2 separate regions of the Homo sapiens genome follow, and region 1 is linked to region 2. Evidence: promoter capture Hi-C in 16 types of primary human blood cells and fetal thymus (Javierre and others, 2016). All regions are on one chromosome and are shown on one strand. Each heading gives the region's core, a stretch centred on a gene start or on the middle of the fragment in contact. The rest is flanking DNA. Distances are from core to core; before and after follow the strand shown. Region 1 holds the start of EID2B (EP300 interacting inhibitor of differentiation 2B). Region 2 holds the start of PSMD8 (proteasome 26S subunit, non-ATPase 8).

Evidence for each region. The method cuts DNA at HindIII sites, captures the fragments that hold promoters and counts their contacts. A CHiCAGO score of 5 or more calls a contact.
Region 1: the fragment with the promoter of EID2B here is called in contact with the fragment with the promoter of PSMD8 in region 2 in 1 of 17 cell types (neutrophils); the score reaches 5.2 in neutrophils.

The regions. Positions count from the first base shown.
Region 1 is chr19:39,530,565-39,535,817 of GRCh38, forward strand. It overlaps EID2B (EP300 interacting inhibitor of differentiation 2B), which reads right to left and starts at 2,288. Exons shown (of 1, transcript NM_152361.3): 1 at 423-2,288. The coding sequence starts at 2,238. The coding sequence ends at 1,753. It also overlaps the pseudogene CRIPTOP7. The HindIII fragment of the contact is 7,702 bases long and covers 966-5,253 here.
Region 2 is chr19:38,372,993-38,378,500 of GRCh38, forward strand. It overlaps PSMD8 (proteasome 26S subunit, non-ATPase 8), which reads left to right and starts at 1,579. Exons shown (of 7, transcript NM_002812.5): 1 at 1,579-1,969; 2 at 3,168-3,240; 3 at 3,360-3,462. The coding sequence starts at 1,610. RefSeq lists enhancers at 1,488-2,118, 1,749-1,888. The HindIII fragment of the contact is 10,393 bases long and covers 1,235-5,508 here.

The DNA.
Region 1 (5,253 bases), core at 1,038-3,537, 1.2 Mb after region 2:
AACGAGTAAACACGTATAAATGCATAGAAAATGTTAAAACATTTTGCAAACAACCCAGATGTCCAAAAGGTGTCTAGTTCATTATACTAAGATAAGGCTTTACATTGTAGTTGTAAAAAAAAAAACGCCCAGTGGAGTAGCTCACGCCCAGCACTTAGTACTTTGGGAAGCCGAGGCAGGAGGAACAGTTGAAGCCAAGAGTTGGAGACAAGCCTAGAAAACATAATGAGGCCCCATCTCTGTTTCTATATATAAAAAAAGAAAAAAAAAACCCTGATATATAAATCTCTCCATATATAACTGAAAAAACCCAAGATGCTGATAGAGGTATACAATATGTTACCTTGATTTTATATTTTTAAAAATTTATACCTCGTGATGCAAGTTAACTACCTTGATATTAAAAGGGAAAATGCACAATATTTAGATTGATGTTTATTTGCATATGCATTAGAAAACCTGAAAGGCGTACAGTGAAAAAGCAAAAAACAAGCAAAACCAAGAAAACAACAACAAAACTCCAAGCCACAAGCAATGGCACCTGCATGGAATAGTTCTGAGTTTGGCAAAGGACAGCAACAAGAGAGATTTCTCACAGCATCTTTTGATACTTTTTTTCTTTTTTTTGAGACGGAGTCCCACTCTGTTGACCAGGCTGGAGTGCAGTGGCGTGATCTCGGCTTACTGCAACCTCCGCCTCCCAGGTTCAAGTGATTCTCCTGCCTCAGCCTCCCGAGTAGCTGGGACTACAAGCGCGTGCCACCACACCCAGTTAATTTTTTATTTTTCGTAGAGATGGGGTTTCACCATGTTGGCCAGGGTGGTCTTGAATTCCTGACCTCAGGTGATCCACCCGCCGTGGCCTCCCAAAGTGCTGGGATTACAGGCGTAAGCCAGTGCGCCCGGCCGATACTTTTTTTTGTTGAGTCTTGTGAATAGAATACATATTCTAGAATAAAATAAAAAGCTTAAAATTAACAAAAAACAAGTTTATTCCACACCTACCCAATTTCACATAGACTTGAAAACACTGATCATATAATACGTGGTTTTTTCTATTGAATATTTACTGTTCATCTAAAGTACCTCAGAAAACACAAATATGAATCTTACACTAGGATTTGTTGACATGACCACAAATTGTGAAATTTCAAAGTCCTCTCAATAGCCTTCCAATCCTAGTAACTCAGGTACACCTGGATTCCTGACAACTCTATTTCTTTGTTTTCTTTCATCACTTAGGTTCATTTCTATGGGTTCTGTTATTGGCATTTTTTTTTTCTCATATCTTTGCAAAACCATCCTTTATGGTGAAAGTCATGAAGGATTCTTCACAAATGCAGGAAAATGCATTGCTAACAAAGTGCTAAGTCAGAAGTGTCTTGGGACCTGTTTGAAAACAAGATTCGGCCGGGCGCGGTGGCTCACGCCTGTAAAGTAATCCCAGCACTTTGGGAGGCCGAAGCGGGAGGATCGCTCGGGTCCAAGCGTTCGGGACCAGCCTAGGGATGCGAGACTCCCTTCTCTATTTAAATAATACTAAAAAAGAAGAAAGAAAACAAGATTCAACAGTCTTGTCTGTTTCCATTTCGGAGTGTGCTTCCTCCTTCAATTGCACATTGCCGTATTCCCTTCCAGTTTGCATTCCCCCTAATGACTGAGTTAACTAAACTGGCACAGCCTGCCTGTTCTTTTGATCCCAAAAGGGTCACTTGGCTATTCCTTGCCACCAATGTCATCATCACAGCCGACTCAGTCGGCCAGAGGACTGAGGGCCTCGGAGGCAGTCAGCGCTACCGTAAACGCGACAGCAGCGAAGTCCATCTGCGGGGGATCCGCGTCAAAGGCTGCTTCCCTCGCCTTGCAGCCTTCCACAAACAGCCTGCGGCGTTCCTCGAAATCCCGTAGTAATCTGACCGGAATCATGGAGCTACCATCCAGATACTCGCGGAACAACAGCTGCCGGTTAATTTCTAAGAAAGCGAGCTGCTGATGGGGGTCTGGCGCGGAGGCCAGGCCCGGGACGCTGCTGGGGATGGGCCCGGGCACAGGGCCCGGCATCCGCGCCATGGACCGCGCAGCTTCGGCCACTGGGCCTTCCCGAGCCTCCTGCACCCGAACCCCGCCGCCGACTGCCCCCCGCAGTACGTCGCTGACGCCACTCGCGGTGCCCACCTGTGGGACACTGCTATCTCCGGGGAGCTCGGACATCTCCAACAGCCCAGTCGGCTCCGCCATAGTCCCAGCGTTTCTACGGAGACTGGAATAACGGCACTGCACTGCTGTATGCGAGACCTGCGCATGCGCGAGTCTCAGTGAGCGCGTAAACGCTGTGCGTGCCAGAGTGTGCGCATGCGTAAGCACGGTGGCCAATCCTCTAGCGTTCCCTAGCGGTCCTGAGTAGCCATTACGTCTGTAGCCGCCTCTGGTCCTCTGAGCGCCTGAGGACCTGCGGACTGCGCGGTATCTTAAATTACAACCACTTCAGTATTAATGTAAAGTTCCTTATACGGTCATTTTCCAGCTCCTGTCTTTTTTTTTTTTTTTTCAGACTGGGTCTCGCCCTGTCGCCTAGGCTGGAGTGCAGTGGTGCGATCTCGGTTACTGCTGCTTTGACCTCCCAGCCTCAAGCCATCCTCCTGCCTCAGCCTCTGGAGTAACTGGAACTACAGGTGCACACAACCACACCCAGCTGATTTTTTATTTTTTGTAGAAATTGGGTCTCACTATGTTGCCCAGGCTGGTCTCGAACTCCTGGACTCAAGTGATCATCCTGCCTTGGCCTCCCAAAGTGCTGGGATTACCGGCCTGAGCCACTCGGCCTGGCCTGTAAGTAATATTTTGACACTGGAAGTTTGGGGGTTTCCCAAAACCACCTTTAGGTTTGATAATTCCCAGAGCTCATTGAAATCTGTTATATTCACAGTCATGCTTATTACAGGCAAAGGACACAGATTAGAAGAGATGTATAAGGCACAATCTGGGATGGGGAGGGTTCCAAATGTGAAGTTCCTGTGTTCCTAGGGATGTGTTACCCTTTGTCGTCCATGTGTGGCAATAAGTGTGGGGGTAGTGCTAACATAGGACTCTCACCCAGGCTTTGGTGTCCAGAGTTTTTACTGGGGTTTTACTACCTAGGCATGCTTGATTAAACCATCGTCCATTTTGTTGAAGTCAATCTCCAGCCTCCTACCTGATATCACATGGCTCCAAGCCCCAACTCTCTAATGATATGGTTAGCCTTTCTGTGTGGCTAGCTCTGATCCTGATGATAACCCAAAACGTGAAAGTCTATGTTCCATTTAAAATCAGTCAGCTGTGGCTGGGTGTAGTGGCTCATGCCTGTAATCCCAGCAAGTTGGGAGGCAAAGGTGGGAGGATCGCTTGAGCCCATGAGTTTGAGACCAGCCTGGGCAACATAGTGAGACCCCTGTCCCTACAGAAAAAAAAAATTAGGCAGGCATGGTGGCATGTGCACCTGTAGTCTCAGCTATTCAGGAGGCTGAGGTGGGAGGATGACTTGAGCTTGGTAGGTGGACTGTGCAGTGAGCTATGATTGCACCACTGCACTCCAGCCCTGTATGACAGAGCAAGACCCTGTCTCGAAAAAAAATCCTTTGAATTTAGCTGGAATCCAAATATGAGAGTTGCTGGCAATTGAACTTCAGGAGGATCCATCTAAAAATTCTGACCTATCACAGGTCGTGTCTGGGAGCTGATTGGGTTGGAAATCATTCTGACTCACGTGTACCTTACTTTGTTTCTACAGTTCTCTTGGAGAGATGGAGTTCTCCTACATGTGACATATATGCTTCAAAAAGCACATTTGTGATATTCCACAGAAGACAAAAGAAAGGACTTCTCTGGAAGGTAACTTCAAGGGGACAACAACAGAGCTATGGACTGCAGGAAGATGGCCTGCTTCTCTTCCAGTGTGATTTGGATCATGGCCATTTTGAAGCCTTTGAACTGGGATTAGTTGCTGGGCTGGGTCATCAGGAACTTGCGTGTCCATCTCAGGGAGACCTGGCCTTCAGAAATGACAGCATTCGGCCCCAGGAGGAGCCTGCAATTCGGCCTCAGTCTTCCCAGCGTGTGCTGCCCATGGGGATACAGGACAGTAAGGAGCTAAGCAGAACCTGCTGCCTGAATGGGGGAACCTGCATTGGGGTCCTTTTGTGCCTGCCCCCCGTCCTTCTATGGATGGAACTGTGAGCACGATGTGTGCAAAGAGAACTGTGGGTCTGTGCTCCATGACACCTGGCTGCCCAAGAAGTGTTCCCTGTGTAAATGCTGGCACGGCCAGCTCTGCTGCTTTCCTCAGGCATTTTACTGGCTGTGATGGCCTTGTGATGGATGAGCATCTCATGGCTTCCAGGACTCCAGAACTACCACCGTCTGCATGTACCACTTTTATGCTAGCTGGCATCTGCCTTTCTATACAAAGTTACTATTAATTGACACTGACCTATTTCCAGAAATACCATTTTAGATATCATGCAAATTTCATGACCAGTAAAAGCTGCTGCTACAATGAAAGATGATCATTTGTTAGTTTACTTAAAATAATGAGTATATTTCCAAAATGGTCTCTAACATTTCCTTACAGTATCAACAACTTCTTACTTCTTTGCCCTGCCCTCTCCCAAAAAACGACTTCTTTTTTCAAAAGAAAGTCAGCCATATCTCCACTGCACCCAAGTCCAGTGTTTCTTTCTTTTTTTGAGATGGAGTCTCGCTCTGTCACCCAGGCTGGAGTGCAGTGGCACGATCTCAGCTCACTGCAACCTCTGCCTCCTGGGTTCAAGCAATTCTCCTGCCTCAGCCTCCCCAGTAGCTGGGATTACAGGCATGTGCCACCATGCACGACTAACTTTTTTGTATTTTTAGTAGAGACCGAATTTCACCATATTGGCGAGGTTGGTCTTAAACTCCTGACCTTGTGATCTGCCTGCCTTAGCCTCTCAAAGTGCTGGGATTACAGGCGTGAGCAACTGCTCAAGGCCTCGTGTTTATTGATACATGTAATTCTACCAAGGTCTTCTTAATATGTTCTTTTAAACGACTGAATTATATCTTCAGATTATTAAAGACTAATCTTAATGTGGACCTTAGGATACAGTTTTGAGTAGAGTTGATCAAAATCAATTAACATTGTCTCTTTAAAAGGAAAGACAGCCTCTTTAAGGCGAGGAACCAGAGTGATGAAGGAATGGAAGTCTGTCTGCATGTGTGCAGGGAGACTGGGTAAGA
Region 2 (5,508 bases), core at 329-2,828:
TTGAGCACAGTCTCGCTCTGTCACCCAGGCAGGAGTGCAATGGCGATCTCAGTTCACTGCAACCTCTGCCTCCCGGGTTCAAGTGCTTCTCCTGCCTCAGCCTCCCAAGTAGCTGTACTACAGATGTGCACCACCACGCCCGGCAAATTTTTGGTATTTTTACATTTATTTATTTATTTTCTCTGAGACAGAGTCTCACTCTGTCACCCAGGCTGGAGTGCAGCGGCACAATCTCAGCTCACTACAAGCTGACCTCCTGGGTTTAAGCGATTCTCCTGCCTCGGGCTCCTGAGTATCTGGGATTACAGGTGTGTGCCACCACGCACAGCTGGTTTTTTTGTTTTTTTTTTTTGGTATTTGCAGTACAGATGGGGTTTCGCCATGTTGGCCAGGTTGGTCTCGAACTCCTGACCTCAAGTGATCTATCTGCCTCGGCTTCCCAAAGTGCTGGGATTACAGGCATGAGCCACCATGCCTGGCCAACAAATATTTATTGACTGTCTACTAATATTTGCCAAGCACTGAGATACTGGGAATTCAGTAGTGAAGGAAATCGTCCTGCCTTCATGGAGATGACATTCTAAATGGTGGAGACGGAGAGTGAAAGTCGGGTTTGAGAAAAACGTGCTGCCCAGGCGCAGTGGCTCACACCTCTAATCCCAACACTTTGCGAGGTCAAGGCAGGAATATCGCTTGAGCTCAGGAGTTCGAGACCAGCCTGGGCAGTATAATGAGACTCTGTCTCTATAAAAAATTTAATTTTTTTTAAAAAGAGAGAAAAAGCGATGTTGAATGTGCAGATGTAATATCAATCAGTGGAGGAAGAAGTTGGTATAAGAAGTTGTGAATACTGGCCAGGCAAGGTGGCTCATGCCTGTAATCCCAGCATTTCGGGAGGCCAGGGCCCAGGGAATCGCCTGAGTTCAGGAGTTGGAGACCAGCCTGACCAACATCTACTAAAAATACTAAAATTACGTCTCTACTAAAAATACGAAAATTAGCCAGGCGTGGTGGCACATGCTTGTAATCCCAGCTACTTGGGAAGCTGGGGCAGAAGAATCACTTGTACCCAGGAGGCGGAGGATGCAGTGAGCCAAGATTGCTCCATTGCACTCCAGCCTGGACAACAAGAGCTAAACTCCGTCTCAAAAAAAAAAAATTGTGAATCCTCCACTTACACATGACATTGAAAGCCATAGAGCTGGATGAGTTTTGTAACTAGTTAGTTCATATAAGCTTGGGAAAAAAATGTGGAAGGATGCATTGAAAAAGACTGGAGAGGGAGCCCCAGGTACACATCCTAGCTGTTAGTCCTTTGGAAGGTTACCCAGCCTCTCAGTCTGTCTATAAAATGAGAATAACACAGCTCTCCAAATGGCACGACACCCGCTACCTTTTGGCTTGGAGACGCTGCCCCGAAGGCGGAACCTCCAGGACAGCTACGTAGCGTCCCGAGCACTCAGACTGAAGCCAGGGCAGCCATGTTCATTATTGGAACCGTGAGGTGGGTAGGGGGGGTGGTGTTGAGACAGCTGTCATTTTCAGTTAGGGCAAAAGCCAACTTCCGGTCACCATCTTGAGTGACGACAGAGGCGGAGCTCCAACTGACATGTTCATTAAGGGCAGGGCTCCGAGGGCGCCACCTCGAGAGCGACGGCGGGCTACCCGGGGCGGGCTGAGGCAGGTTGTAGCCCCGCCCCGGGCCTTGGGCTCCACCTCTCGGCCCCACTTCCGCCGGGCAAGCGTTTGTAGGCGGCGCTGCCGTAAATCAGGCGGTCTGCTTGCCGCATCACGCAAGATGGCGGCCGCGGCGGTGAACGGGGCGGCAGGCTTCTCGAGCTCCGGGCCCGCGGCAACCTCGGGCGCTGTTCTGCAGGCCGCGACCGGCATGTACGAGCAACTCAAGGGCGAGTGGAACCGTAAAAGCCCCAATCTTAGCAAGTGCGGGGAAGAGCTGGGTCGACTCAAGGTAAAGTCGGCAGGCCCAGGAAACCGAGTGTTGCGGGCGTGGGAGGCGCTACGAGGTGTCTGGACCCAACCAAGTCCCGGGCCGCGGAAGCCACCTCGGTGCCAGCGAGACTGAGGCGGGCTGGGGGATCCGATGGGGTGAAAGATTTGGAACAGCCAAAGTGGGGGCTCGGAGGGCGTCAAGAAGCGAGAGAGGGACAGGGAGCGTTGATGGTCACGCCTGTAATCGCAGCGCTTTGGGAGGCCGAGGCGGGGGAGCGTCGCTTGAGCCCAGGAGTTCAAGATCAGCCTGAGCAACATAGCGAGACTCTGTCTCTACATTTTTTTTTTAAGTGAGAGATGACTGGAATGGACCCACGCGGGGGTGGTGGGGGAATGATTGGAAGACTTATGGCAGAACTGAGTGAGGGGTTAGATTTTTGGTGCGTGGAGGCTTAACTGGTCGGAGTGGCAGGATTGGGATTCGGGCTTTTCCTGATGGTGGATTCCAGGCAAGACCAAGTGGGAAGTGAGGACTGCCCGGAGTGATAAAAGAATGAGGCTGAAAAGGTGGGCTGTGTAGAGGGTGTGTGGTTAAGACCAGGCTGGGTTAGGATCTGAGAGATCTGGGGCTTAGGCTCGCATCTGTTGGGAGAGGGGGCAGCCTAGTTGTGAAGGCAGGACTGAACCTAGAAGAAATATTCTTACAAGTAGAGAACAAGAATACGGGGCCCAGAGTGCTTCAGACCAAACATCTGTTGGGAGGGAGTGTAAATCCAGTGGCTTGGAACAAGCTGCTGAGCCTGCTAAGGAAAGATGTATGGGCTGAACTGTGGGGGGAGATTTGGACCTCCCCCTCCCAGATATAGATTTTGGGGATAGCCCAGCTACCCCTTCCCCAATAGATTGTGGGGAAGATGGGCCAAGAATGGAATGTACTCCTGTCCCCACCGCCGCGTGATTCCACTGGGTCAGGCACTGAGTGTCCCTCCTTGTTTCCCCAGTGGGGCTATTAATAATTGTAATGTGATGTAATCTTAAATGGGCATGTGTTGCGTGCTCAGGCCCTGTTCTGAGTGCTTTATGAGAAAGCATTCCTCATGAGTCTGGATGATGGTTAGCTCCATTTTCCAAGTGGGAAGACCAGAGCGTAGAGCAGGTAAGTCATCTGTATTTGAATTCCCTTCTTTTCTTTCTTCCCTCCCTCCCCTCCCCATCAGCTAGTTCTTCTGGAGCTCAACTTCTTGCCAACCACAGGGACCAAGCTGACCAAACAGCAGCTAATTCTGGCCCGTGAGTGTCACTGGGGTTGGTTGGGGGTGATAATCTGGGGGTCATGGCAGGAATGGTAGCACTGGTGGTTGGGGAAGAGACCTCAGTCACCTCCTGAGAGCTCACTCTGTCACCCACAGGTGACATACTGGAGATCGGGGCCCAATGGAGCATCCTACGCAAGGACATCCCCTCCTTCGAGCGCTACATGGCCCAGCTCAAATGCTACTACTTTGATTACAAGTGAGAATGGGCCCTGCCCCCAACTGGGGGGGTGGTTGCATGGAAGCTCCTTTATTTCTGGAGCTCTGGCTGCTTGGGTCCTCTTCCTTCATCTGGGAACTCCTCCTGGCTTAGTTCTCTCCTCAGTGGTGCAGGGTCAGGGCTTGGCTTGGAGGTCCTGAGACTTGGCTTGACTAGTCAGTCTCCCCCTACCCATTCCCACATTGCACCCCCTCTGCCCAGTGGGGCTGCCATCACCTTTCACGTGTCCTGGCCCCAGCCTTGCCCCTCTGACTCAAACCCCTGTGGCAGCCAGTAGGATCATGTGACACTAAAATTTGACACTGTCCATACCCCGCTCAGAACCTGCCGTGGCTCTTCATGGTCCTCAGGCACAAGACCAAGTTCTTTCCTGTGGCTTCCAATGCAGTTCCAGCTCACACCCCTCTGCCTGTGCCTGCTCATCCCAGCCCTTTCTCTCACTGGACTGTGAGCTTTCTAAAGGCAGAGCTTGGAACTGTCTCAGTTACTGCTATGTCCCTAGCACTGCCTACCACAGGGCCAGGCCCAGAACAGGGACTCACTGGATATGTGTTGAATATAAAACTGAATGATACCTGCACAGATTAATGATTGGGAATTTGACATCAGACAAATCTGGCTTTGAAACATCCAGCCGCTTCCTGATTATGAGGTCTTGGGCAAATGACTTTACCTCTCTCAGTTTCCCTGTTAAAGTAGGGAGTGGTGATTCTTTTATTTATTTATTTTTGGAGACAGGGTCTTGCTGTGTTGCCCAGGCTGGAGTGCAGTGGTGCAGTCATGGCTCACCACAGCCTTGACCTCCTGGGCTCAAGCGGTACTCCTACCTTAGCCTCTCAAGTAGCTAGGGCTACAGGTGCACACCACCACTCCTGGCTCTTTTATTTTAATTTTTTGTAGAGATGGGGGTCTCGCTTTGTTGCCCAGGCTGGTCTCGAACTCCTGGCCACAAGTGATCCTCCTGCCTTGGGCTCCCAGAGTGTTGGGATTACAGGTGTTGAGTCATTGCATCTGACTCCAATAACTTTTTTTTTTTTTGAGACGGAGTTTCACTCTTGTTGCCCAGGCTGGAGTGCAATGGTGCAATCTCGGCTCACCACAACCTCTGCCTCCCGGGTTCAAGCTATTCTCCTGCCTCAGTCTCCCAAGTAGCTGGGATTACAGGCATGCGCCACCACGCCCTGCTAGAGTCCACCCAGGCTAGAGTGCAACGGCTGGATCTCGGTGCACTGCAACCTCCGCCTCCCAGGTTCAAGTGATTCTCCTGCCTCAGCCTCCCTCAGCCTCCTGAGTAGCTGGTATTACAGGTGCCCACGACCACGCCCAGCTAATTTTTGTATTTTTAGTAGAGATGGGGTTTTGCCAGGTTGGCCAGGCTGGTCTTGAACTCCTGACCTCAGGTGATCCACCCGCCTCGGCCTCCCAAAGTGCTTGGATTATAGGCGTGAGCCACCGCGCCCGGCCAGTAACTCTTAATATAGTTATAGCTAACACTTTGTGTTTATTTGGGCCAGGTATTGTTCTAATCACCTTACCTGGGTTGAATCATTTAATTCACTTAACCCTTGTTCATTCAACCCATCTCTACGAAATGGATACTGTGAGGCCGGGCATGATGGCACATGCCTGAAATCCCAGCACTTTGGGAGGCTGAGACAGGAGGATCACTTGAGCCCAAGATTTCCAGACCTGCCTGGCCAACATGGCGAAATCCTGTCTCTACAAAAAATATTGAAAAATTAGCTGGGCAGGCTGGGCATGGTGGCTTACACCTGTAATCCCAGCACTTTGGGAGGCCAAGGTGGGCGGATCATGAGCTTAGGAGGTTGAGACCATCCTGGCTAACACGGTGAAACCCTGTCTCTAAAAGAAAAATACAAAAATTAGCCAGGTGTGGTGGTGGGCGCCTGTAGTCCCAGCTACTCGGGAGGCTGAGGCAGGAGAATGGCATGAACCGAGGAGGCAGAGCCTGCAGTGAGCCAAGATCGGGCCACTGCACTCCAGCCTGGGCGACAGAGCAAGACT